Linked DNA regions of Homo sapiens: regions 1, 2 and 3 are each linked to region 4. Evidence: promoter capture Hi-C in 16 types of primary human blood cells and fetal thymus (Javierre and others, 2016). All regions are on one chromosome and are shown on one strand. Each heading gives the region's core, a stretch centred on a gene start or on the middle of the fragment in contact. The rest is flanking DNA. Distances are from core to core; before and after follow the strand shown.

The links. The method cuts DNA at HindIII sites, captures the fragments that hold promoters and counts their contacts. A CHiCAGO score of 5 or more calls a contact.
Region 1: a fragment that was not itself captured here is called in contact with the fragment with the promoter of ZNF622 in region 4 in 1 of 17 cell types (activated CD4 T cells); the score reaches 5.3 in activated CD4 T cells.
Region 2: the fragment with the promoter of MARCHF6 here is called in contact with the fragment with the promoter of ZNF622 in region 4 in 4 of 17 cell types (naive CD8 T cells, total CD8 T cells, activated CD4 T cells and 1 more); the score reaches 7.9 in naive CD8 T cells.
Region 3: a contact is called between a fragment that was not itself captured here and the fragment with the promoter of ZNF622 in region 4, in 3 of 17 cell types (total CD4 T cells, activated CD4 T cells and non-activated CD4 T cells). The highest score is 12.4, in total CD4 T cells.

The regions. Positions count from the first base shown.
Region 1 is chr5:10,752,948-10,755,647 of GRCh38, reverse strand. The region is part of intron 1 of DAP (death associated protein); the gene reads left to right. Among named protein-coding and RNA genes, the nearest start is that of DAP-DT, 6.7 kb to the left of the region's middle. The HindIII fragment of the contact is 1,704 bases long and covers 449-2,152 here.
Region 2 is chr5:10,352,247-10,354,946 of GRCh38, reverse strand. MARCHF6 (membrane associated ring-CH-type finger 6) reads right to left here and starts at 1,252. Exons shown (of 26, transcript NM_005885.4): 1 at 1,030-1,252. The coding sequence starts at 1,048. It overlaps MARCHF6-DT (MARCHF6 divergent transcript), which reads left to right and starts at 890. Exons shown (of 3, transcript NR_183261.1): 1 at 890-975. RefSeq lists enhancers at 16-587, 1,434-1,693 and silencers at 644-1,113, 1,154-1,293. The HindIII fragment of the contact is 4,878 bases long and covers 1-2,700 here.
Region 3 is chr5:10,251,312-10,254,011 of GRCh38, reverse strand. All of the region lies in intron 1 of CCT5 (chaperonin containing TCP1 subunit 5), which reads right to left. Among named protein-coding and RNA genes, the nearest start is that of CCT5, 2.4 kb to the right of the region's middle. RefSeq lists a silencer at 2,582-2,700. The HindIII fragment of the contact is 2,706 bases long and covers 1-2,687 here.
Region 4 is chr5:16,464,449-16,467,148 of GRCh38, reverse strand. It overlaps ZNF622 (zinc finger protein 622), which reads left to right and starts at 1,349. Exons shown (of 6, transcript NM_033414.3): 1 at 1,349-2,108. The coding sequence starts at 1,484. RefSeq lists a silencer at 1-164 and an enhancer at 1,972-2,041. The HindIII fragment of the contact is 4,211 bases long and covers 1-2,700 here.

The sequences.
Region 1 (2,700 bases), core at 51-2,550, 5.7 Mb after region 4:
TTCTCAGTGGCCAAACTAATCCAGGTTTATTTCTCTCCTGGGTGGGGTCTTCTTAACAAAGAGCAATTCAGAGGCCCAGACACCCCTTGCTGTATAACACTAGCTTTTCATTGTGTGGCTGCTGCTGAGGGGACAAGTGTAGGTCGCCGTGCTGGGGTCCGTATGGTGTGGCCCACAAGTGGTATGCATCATCACATCAGTTTCCTATGGCTGCTGTACCAAATCACAATAAACTTAGTGGTTCTAAACAACACAGTTTTATTATGTTACAGTTCTAGAGGTGAGAAGTCCAAGATGGGTCTCACTGGGCTAAAATCAAAGTATCCACAGGGCAACTGGTTCCTTCTGGAGGATCGGGGAGAATCCCATTTTCTTGCCTTTTCCAGCTTCTAGAGGCTGCCCACTTTCCTTGGCTCGTGGCGCCTTCCTCCACAAGCCAAGGAAAGCTTCTTCAAAGGCAGCAATGACCAGTCACATCCTCACATCACACACTCAGAGCCCTGACTCTTCCGCCTCCCTCTTTCACATTCAGAGACCCTTGAGATTACATGGGCCCACCTGGGTAATCCAGAATAATCTCCTCACCTTCAGTCTATGATTCTAAGCACAGAATAGCAGTTTCCCTTCTTCTTCCTCAGCTTACAGTCAGCTGATGAGCAACCTTAATTCCATCTACAACCCTCATTTCCCCTGGCCGTGTAGCCCAGCACACTCACAGGTTCCAGAGTGGGGGGACGTGATGACATGATGCTGCCCACCAAAGTCACTTTTCCCCATACTATTGGGCAGGACCCAGTTTGATGCCCCCAATCCAACTACGGGGAAGCTGGGAGTGAGACTGGCAAACACCTGACTAGTCCTAGCCTCAACCAATTCCCAATGACAGCTTTTCCAAAGCACTTCCAGGCAGCCGATCCTACTTTCCCCTAAACTTTTTGAATCAGCCTCCCTGCACTCAAGGATATACATGTAGCTGCTCCATGTACCTCCCAGCTTGAAAGGGGCCCAGTCAGATGTCCGGCAAGGTGCCCATCCTGGCCCAGTCAGTACTCATTTTGTCCTTTGGGTCAGAAACTATGTCAAGGATGGAACACACACTGCTGTGGAAGATGGAGTGTTTGGCCCAGGGGGGTCCCACTATGTCTCTGAACTTCATTCTTTAACAGGGTTGCTCCGTGTAATTTAAGAGCCTTCTCACCTTCACAGTCTATGATTCTGAGCACAGAATAGCAGTATGAAGCCAACGAGAGTGCAAATTCAGGAAAGTATCTGGGGCTCCAGCTCATTTTTTAGCACAAACCATTACTTCTACCTTATCTATGCACACCTGAAAGCTCCTGTAAGGGCTCCACTTGGTCTGGGGGCAAGGTTCTCATTGGGGTCTTCTATAACTTATGTCTGTTATTGGGCCAGACTGTCAGTACCCACTCTCTGCATACGTTCTTACCGCCTCTCACCCCTTTATCCTCTCCACTTTTTAGGGTTCCCACCTTCAGGTGCATGGGCTTCCATAGATGTGAGTCTCCACTTGCCAGTGATTCTCCTCTCTCCTGGTGGAGTCATTTTTCTTAACTAAGATAGGCCATAGTCCCTTGCCCTGTTCGCATTGGGAAGTTCTACCCACCTAATCTCACCAGCCCCTTTGCTTACCTGCCACTACATTGCTCTACCTGAGATCCTTTGGTTTAATCATAACCTGCAGCACTGGTTGTTTTCTGTTTTGTTTTGTTCCTTCCACTGGAACAGTCCTCAGAACCTTTCGTCACTTCTTTTAGGTAGAAGAGCTTCCCTTTGAATAACATTTCCATAGCTCTTCTCAGGCAAGAACAAAGGTAGCATATACTTGTGAGTCATACTCCAGTACCTGCAGTGGATGCTTTTGGGACATTTGTGTGAGTTAACAGCCCTTCCTAGCTCCCTGCTGGAAATTGCTCCCTGGTTCATGGAACTCTTCCAGTATTTCCCCTTTCTTCTTCCCGCAGTAGCATTTTCTAGTTTGCTATTTGGCACTAGCAGATAGCAAGCCACCAGTGACTGCATCTTACAGCCAGGCATCCTGACACCTGAGGACGGATGCTTGGCCCAGGGTCCCACATAGTCATTTGCCTCCTTGGTGTTTGCTTACCTCCCAGATGTGACCGTAGGTAAAGCTTCCTCCACTCCCCTTCCCACTTGGGCAGGCAGCTGCTCTGTGGAGAGCTTTTCATTTCAAACTCACCTTCCCTTATCTAGGTAGTGTAATAACCTGGCCCTGTCTGTAGGCCGTTCCTTTGAGTTACTCTCAGAAGCCATGGTGCTCTGCTTCCTGGAAGGAATCTGATCAAGGAAAGGCTTACCTACGATTAAGGGTGGAACCCAGTTTGCCGCTTGCCAGCTGTGCGATTTGGGGCCGCTGGCTTCCCCTTCTCCCTGCCTCAGGATCTACTCCGTGGGGCTGCTGTGCAGTGAAAGATGCGTGGACTCCAAGTGGTTAGAGCGGTGCCTGCCACAGAGTGGTGATGAGGAGCAGAAGTTGGATCTGTGATTCTCCCAAAGCTTCCTCAGGTGGTGATGTAATGACGGAGGTCCTGGTGGTGGTCAGCACCACGATGGGCAGGTGCTTTACAGGGCATGGCCTTCATTCCCCAGCAACCCGTAGGGCAGCGCTCTTTAAGGAACTGCTGTGAAGAGAGGGTGAAGAGCTGGAAAAGCACCAACGAT
Region 2 (2,700 bases), core at 3-2,502, 6.1 Mb after region 4:
AAAAAATAAGTCGTTATCAACTCATTACATAGATAATATCAAACTTTTTTCACTCATTATTGCACTCCATGACGGCGTTTGATAATTCATTTTCGTTTAAAATCGCCAAAATCGCAACCCATAAGGTTGAAAGACGCTCATACCCCCATAAATATACCTAAAGTAGAAAAGCATTTGCACGATAACCGGAACATCAAAAAAAGCAAAATTTAGTAATTTCCTCTATAAACTCACCACTCATTTAAAAACACAGCTGGTTAAAAATAATCTACTACCTTCAGTGGGTAAGAAAATGCGTTTGAAGAGACATAAGGTGTGGACGTTTATATCTTAAGTATTCATTTTACAAGGGTCAGTTTGTTCAATGTAACCGTATCCAAAACACAAGCAATCGCAAAACAAAACAAACAGAACCCTGCTTATAGGTGTCAAGGATTTAAAACCAAATGGATCGCAACAAAAGAGCCTCCCCGTTTAGTAAACAGATTCTCGAGCGGCAGGCAAGCCGAGGACCAGGCTTTTCAACAGGGGTCAGCTCACTCCACTCGGCCGTCATCTGGCGGGGTATTTTTCGCGAAGTTTCAAAGTCAACAAAGAAGTTCTGTCGCGAGGGGGTAGGGCCTGGCGAGCAATAGGCAGAAGGACGTAAAGAAAGACAAAACCCAGTGGGGGAAGGGTGCGGAAAACGCCCCCGGACGGCAGCGACAGAGGCCCCCTTTTCTGGGCCAGCGCGCGACGGCGGGGACAAGGGAGGCCACGCCGGCCTGCAGTAGCCCCGAGGCCCCGACCCCGGCCCCGGCCCCTGCCCGGCAGGGTCCCCGCCCCCCTCGGCGGCGCGGGCGGGAAACGGCGGGGGGCGCGCAGAGGGTCACCTTCCGCTCCCCGGCCCAGAGGCCCAGCGGGTGGACAAACGGCCCAGGCGTCCGCCCCGCCGCGATCCAGCAGCCCACCTCGAGCGCCGCGGACCTGGCCGGGGTACGAACCCGGGCGCCGACGCAAGGGCTCGGGCGCCGCGCGTCGCCGACTTACCTTCCTCCGCGGTGTCCATCTTGTCTGGGGGGGCGGCGGTGACGCAGCCACGAGGCTCCCGCGGCCGGGCGGGGAAAGAGGGAGGGGAGAGGAGGAGGGAGCCGGGCCCGGGCAGGTGCGTACGCTCAGGTGCGAGAGAGGAAGCGAGAGGAAGGAGAGGGGAGAGGGAGAGGGAGAGAGGCTGACAGAAAGCGAGCGACACGGGAGGGGGAGGGGCGGGAACACCTAGGGGCGAGGCCTGGGCGGGGCGCCGAGGCGGAAGGGGCGGGAGCTCCCCAACGACAGGCGCTGTCACTTCCGGCGGCCGCGGCGTGCACTGTCGGTCGGCGGCTAAGGAGGGGAGGCACCTGCATCTGGGGCGCGGCGAATCCTCGCGTGCGCCAGGCCGCCTGGGGTAGTCGCCGAGACTGCGCCGGCCAGCGGGGCCGAAACCTAATCAGGAGCTGAGCTTTGATGGCGGCTTCTGGAGGGACAAAGAAGGCGCAGAGCGGTGGGAGGAGGCTGCGAGAACCTAGCTCCCGCCCCAGCCGACGTGCGAGACAAAGGCCCCGGCGCGGGGCTCTTCGGAAGGCCGGGAGGTTCCTGTGACAATGCGAGTCTGCGCCCCACGCTCCCGCACCGTGATGCCGAGGCCAAATGGCTAGAGTGGGCCCAGGCATCAGCATTTCTGTTTGGCAGCCGGGCAGTTGTGGTGCACGTTTTGAGGAACTACTAAAGCCTGCCTGTGATGAAAAAGGCAAAAGCTGACTTCACCAAAATTACTCCCAGGGAGACTTCTGCATTTGGCTGGAAGGACATTTGAGTAAACCGCTGAGGCTGGTGGTTGAAACATAATCCTCTAAGGGAGATCGGTTCCGATACCCTGAGTTAGGGACGCTTGCCTGGGCAGAGCTAAGGGGAGAATGATCAAAAGCCAAGCTCTGTCCCCGTCAGCACGTCACCCTCCCTCACTGTAATCCCTGACTGTTTTCTCTAAATGAAGAATTATTTAGAGAATATAAATTAGAAGGGCCGCCACGTCAGAATTGCCTGAGTGGGAGCAGTCTTTCCAGCCTCGAAAAATGTTTAAACAATATGCAGATGACCTAGCACAAATAAAGAATGCTAGCAACCGCTGTTATGTGTGAGCGGTGGAATTGGGAGGGCTCTTCCCCCAATCTTCATCAAACAGAGTAAGGTTTAGAATAAAAATAATGAAATACAGTCTTTCAAAAAGAGCAGCGCTTGACTAATGTTACTGATGTCACTCATGTTACTCAAGGGAGGAAAGAACTCAAACTCTACATAATAATACCCACTGATTTCAAGGGCTGGCACGGAGAATTAAGCAGACCGCCATTCTTTATATTTGTTTTTTTGTTGTTGTTTGCTTATGATTTTTTTCTTTCTTTTTTTTTTTTTTTTTTTGAGAAGGGGTCTCGCACTGTCACCCAGGCAGGAATGCAGTGGCGCGATAATGGCTCACTGCAATCTCACTATATTGACCAGTATGATTTTCAACTCCTGTCTTTAAGCGATCCTCACGCTTCGGCCTCCCAAAGTGCTGGGGTTACAGACATGTGCCACTATGCCCTGCCTAAATATGTTTATATATACTACCGCCAAAGAAACAATTTGAAGACGATCTTTCCCCAGCCCCTCTCCTTCTGATCCAACTCCAAGAGCTCACCC
Region 3 (2,700 bases), core at 85-2,584, 6.2 Mb after region 4:
AGACAGGTTTAAGTATTATAACATTTACGACTCCAGTTTTAATAAGCAATTCTTACGTAAAGAAAGAGAACCAAGTGCTTTGTGTTATCTCACTGAATTTTCAACACATTAATGAGACAGATTCTTTTACCAGCCCATTTACAGCTGAGAAGAGGGACAGTATGACTATGACCTTACAGGCGTTGCAAGACCACTGTGCAACACAGTCCTCCCTGAGCATCCATGGGGAATTGGTTCCAGGAGCCACAGTTCTCCCTGAGCATCCATGGGGAACAGGTTCCAGGAGCCCCCGAGGATACCCAAATTCACAGATGCTCAAGTCCCTTGCATCTAGGCTTGTACATCTGCGGGTTCCCCATCTGCAGACAAGGAGGGGCCTGTACTCATGAGAAACAGTCCAACTGTAAACATACAACACCTTACTGTCACACTATGATTTACTGCAGAATTGTAATCTTTTGAGCTGGATGCAGTACTAGAGCCTGCAACCCCCCCTACTTGGGAGGCTGAGGCAGGAGGATTGCTTGAGGCCAGGAGTTTGAGATCAGCCTGGGAAACATGGCGAGACCCCATTACAAAATAAAAAGAAAAACTGCTCTTGCTTTAAAAATCTTCCTCCACCCACCTGAAATCCCAATAATTATATTTATAGATCAAAGTTACTGACTGGCCTTTTTTTTTTTGAGACAGTCTTGCTGTGTCTCAAAAAGGCTGGAGTGCAGTGGCATGATCTCAGCTCACTGCAACCTCCGCCTCCCGGGTTTAAGCGATCCTCCTGCCTCAGCCCCCCAGTAGCTGGGATTACAGGCACGCGCCATGACGCCCTGCTCATTTTTTTTTGTATTTTCAGTAGAGATAGGGTTTTGCCATGTTGGCCAGGCTGGTCTTTAACTCCTGACCTCAGGTGATCCACCTGCCTTGGCTGCCCAAAGTGCCAGGATTACAGGTTTGAGCAACCACGCCCGGCTGAAACTGGCCCTCTTAAGGAAGGTAAGTAGCTGTCAAAGTGATAATAAAAAAGTTACCTGTTTTTTTTTTCACATTTAGCTACCAAATTGAGTAATAGAATTATTATTATTATTATTTTTAAGGAGAAAGCAAGAGGCAGAAAGAAAAGGATGTAAAGAATTTGGCAAATAGGAGAGATCCCGAAATCCCGAGATCTATTTTGCCCTACTGCTCGGCAACGTGGAAAAAACCTTTTTCTTCCTTCTGCTAGTTCTGTGTGTTTCCAGAGGGAAGAGTATCAAACATCAAGGCATAATACATATTATGGATAAAACAGAATTATGCTGGCTGGCCTGGAAACTTAGCCTGCTCTGTTTTAGGTTACAGGATTTTAGAATATGATTCCTTCCTAAGCCAACTAATGCCTGCACCTTTTTTTTTTTTTTTTTGAGACGGAGTCTCACTCTGTCACCCAGGCTGGAGTGCAGTGGCGTGATCTCGGCTCACCGCAACCTCTGCCTCCCAGGTTCCAGCGATTCTCCTGCCTCAGCCTCCCAAAGTTCTGGGATTACAGGCGTGAGCCACCGCGCCCAGTCAATGCCTGCATTTTTAAGGTGAAATATTATACAGTTAAGTGTTAAACAAGTGAAGAATCTCAACAAAATACATATTACCTTTAAGGCTCTAAATGACCAGAGAGAAAGAACTGTGACCATTACCATTAAAACGTTCACGTCCTGGCCTATACATTTCTTTTACCGTTGCCTTCAATTTCCATATATTTTGGTTCTTCAAGTTAGCTGGACGTTCTATGAGGTCAGGGAGCAAGTGTATATCCCTAAACTGCTGAGCCTCAACACTCACAGGATGCCTACCAACAGCATCCAACTCTTTTAAGAGACTTAAACACCCAGGTTACTGTCCAAATGAGCTCCCACAGCAAAGAATGATCCGACCTCGAATGTCAATATGCCAAACTTGAGAATGCTGCTCTAGACCACTGGCTTTGACTCTGACAGCGGTGGCCCTGACCATGGTAATGCTCTTTAGTAGCAACTGCTCTTCAGAACAATTTCTCAACTGCTCTGGGCCCAAGTCCCCAGTTTTGTAAAATAACCCTGTCTCAGAGTGTGCGACTTCTGGGCACAAATGCATGCAGTTTGAACAAAATGGCTGATGCAAAACAACCTAGTTTTAGTTATGTTGTTACACCAGGTGTGTGTATTGGATGTTATTTTCTCTGCAGGTCCCTGTTAAGTGGAAAATAAAATGGAATACATAATACAATTAGCTTGAAACTTTTTCTTTCTAGAAAGGAAACAAATACTGAGTGCCTACCGTGGATCAACCACTGTGCAGCCCCTCTAAGTCACTCCATTTAATATCACTGTCAAGTCTTCAGCTTGACGGAGGCCTATCACCTCCCCCTGGAAAAGGAGGTTCCGCGAGGTTGTGTAACTAGCACTAAGTCAAACAAAGAGTCCATAGGGGAACTGTATTGTTTCTAACTTTGCGTAAGTAAACCTCCAAGACACTAAGTGAACAGGGACACCTGAGAGACCTAGTGGAATGGTCTATTATGAATTCACTTTATAACAAACCCTGAAGGCCCTCTCGGAGTGTCCCTTCCTCTGCATTTTCTGTCAACGTCTGGTGCTCAGATGTTTCTTACCTGCACCCCTGCCCTGGTTTCTTTAACCCCTCTGGTCTTCCTTATTCCCTTCGGTCTATCTCAAGCTTTGCTGCCTGAAG
Region 4 (2,700 bases), core at 100-2,599:
GAATTTGATTGAGTCAAGGGAAGGCACTGGAAGGTTTTTTAAAGCGCCATCTTCTTTTGGTTTTCTCTTGGCAGCCTGGATTCTGAGCATGCAACATTCGACTCTAACAAGGCTGACTCTGGTTCAACCAGGCTGTGTGGATGAAATCTACGACCTCCCCAAGCATTTGAAGTTCATGTTTTCTTTTTCTTTTGAGATGGAATCTTGCTCTGTTGCCCAGGCTGGAGTGCAGTGGCGCGATCTCGGCTCACCACAACCTCCGCCTCCCGGGTTCAAGCGATTCTCCTGCCTCAACCTCCCAAGTAGCTGGGATTACAGGTCTGCGCCACTGCGCCGGGACTAATTTTTGTATTTTTTAGCAGAGACTGGGTTTCGCCATGTTGGCCAGGCTGGTCTTGAACCCCTGACCTCAGATGATCCGCCCGCCTCGGCCTCGCAAAGTGCTGGGATTACGGGCGTGAGCCACCGCGCCTGGCCTGAAGTTCTTTTCTACAGAACTTTGCTGTCCTATATACATGAGGGTACACAGCCAACTGGGCACCTGGCACGGGTCTAGTCCAAATTGAGATGGGCTGTTAACTCTAAAACACACACTGGATTTCCAAGACTTAGAACCAACGACAGAGCGTAAAAGATCTAATTAATTCTTTTAGACTGATTACATGCTGAAATGACAGGATGGGCTAAATTAAACACATTAAAAGCAGTTTCACCGATTTCTCTTTACTCTTTAAAAATGTGGCTGCTATTAGAATTACCTACGTGGCTTGGACTGTGTGTCTACAGGGAGCTCCTCTCGCGCACTCTGTGCACTCAAATTCCGCCGGTGTCCTCCGCCGGAAGGGCCGCCTCAGAAAGGCCGAGCCCCCGGCCTGGCTTCTCCGGTTTCCCGGGAAAGCGTTGCAACCACGGGCGAGGGCTCCGAGGTCGGCCCCGAGGGGTAAGGGCAGCCCTTGCCTTCGCGACATCCATTCACCCGGCTCCGCAGGTGCAGCGCGCGGTCCTCAGAGAAACCCCGACCCTCGCGTCGCTGACCCGACCATTCATTAATCGGGGGCTTCCCAGGGCCCAGGAGCAGCCTCGGGCGCCCCACTCCCCCATTCTCGCGTAGCCGTCCCCTTGACCGCGTCACACCGAGCGGCACAACCACCAGGGAAGGTAACTGGGAGGGCGCGACCTCCCTCAATCAACAGCCACCTCGGGCTGACTGAGCGGACCCAGGTCCCTTTCAGCCACAGCGTTCCCTCGGCTTCCTGGGCCTCACGGCGGCGGAGGCGTGGCCACAGCCTGAGAGGCGGGTTTCCTGTCCAGTTGTGAATAACTTCCGACGTGTGCCGGAAGTTTCCTCAGTGACAATCAGGAAGTCGGCGTGTCGAGTGGCTCTTCCTGGCTGCTGAGGCGGGTTAAGGTCTGAGGGTCTTGTGGGGCCACGGCGCTGATCACCAGGTGTTTGGCTTGGTCGGTTCTTATTTCTCGCCTGGCAATGGCGACGTACACCTGCATAACTTGCCGGGTGGCGTTCCGCGACGCGGACATGCAGCGGGCCCACTATAAGACGGACTGGCACCGCTACAACCTGCGGCGGAAGGTGGCCAGCATGGCCCCAGTGACCGCCGAGGGCTTCCAGGAGCGAGTGCGGGCGCAGCGGGCCGTCGCGGAGGAGGAGAGCAAGGGCTCGGCCACCTACTGCACCGTTTGCAGTAAGAAGTTTGCCTCTTTCAACGCCTACGAGAACCACCTCAAGTCCCGGCGTCACGTTGAGCTGGAGAAGAAGGCCGTGCAGGCAGTGAATCGGAAAGTGGAGATGATGAATGAAAAGAACTTGGAGAAAGGACTGGGCGTGGACAGTGTGGACAAGGATGCCATGAACGCGGCCATCCAGCAGGCCATCAAGGCCCAGCCGTCCATGTCTCCCAAGAAGGCGCCCCCAGCGCCTGCAAAGGAGGCCAGGAATGTCGTGGCCGTGGGTACTGGTGGCCGTGGGACCCACGACCGAGACCCGAGTGAGAAACCACCCCGGCTCCAGTGGTTTGAACAGCAGGCGAAGAAGTTGGCAAAGCAGCAGGAGGAGGACAGCGAGGAGGAGGAAGAGGACCTGGATGGAGACGGTGATGGCCCTGTCTGGGCGGGGAGGGTAAAGAGGAACTTGGCCCACCCTTAAGTTTCCAGATTTATACTCGAGATGGGTGTGTGTGTGTGTTTGAGAGCTTTTAAGTAAAAATGATGAGGGAAGGTGGTTTAGACGCTTTCTGAAGTGCCTTATCTGGCCAGCAGGTTTGGCTGTTTAGTTCACTCAATTCATTCTCCAAGGCCTAAAACCTTGTCTGGAAAAAGAAGTGCTTAATGCATATTTGGAGAATGAATTGATGCCTTCTGTGTTTTGGATGAAGAGGCTTTTAACATATGCACAGGAGGACATGCTATCGTCATACCAGCTGCCGTGTAATTTGCGATTCTAGTGGGTTTCCAGTTATGATGGTTTTGCACTTAATTTAGTTGAGTAAAACAGAATGAGGGGATCAAAACCAACTCAGCCAGAAATTTGGAGCTGGAGCCAGCACCCTCACCTCTTTGCCTTTATGAGCTATTTATTCCTTACTTCCCTCATCCCACATCCTATTAACAGTGCTGGTGTAGGTGTTCATGTCTTAGTCTGTCCACTCTGCTATAAGGAAGTACTAGAGACTGGGTGATTTATGA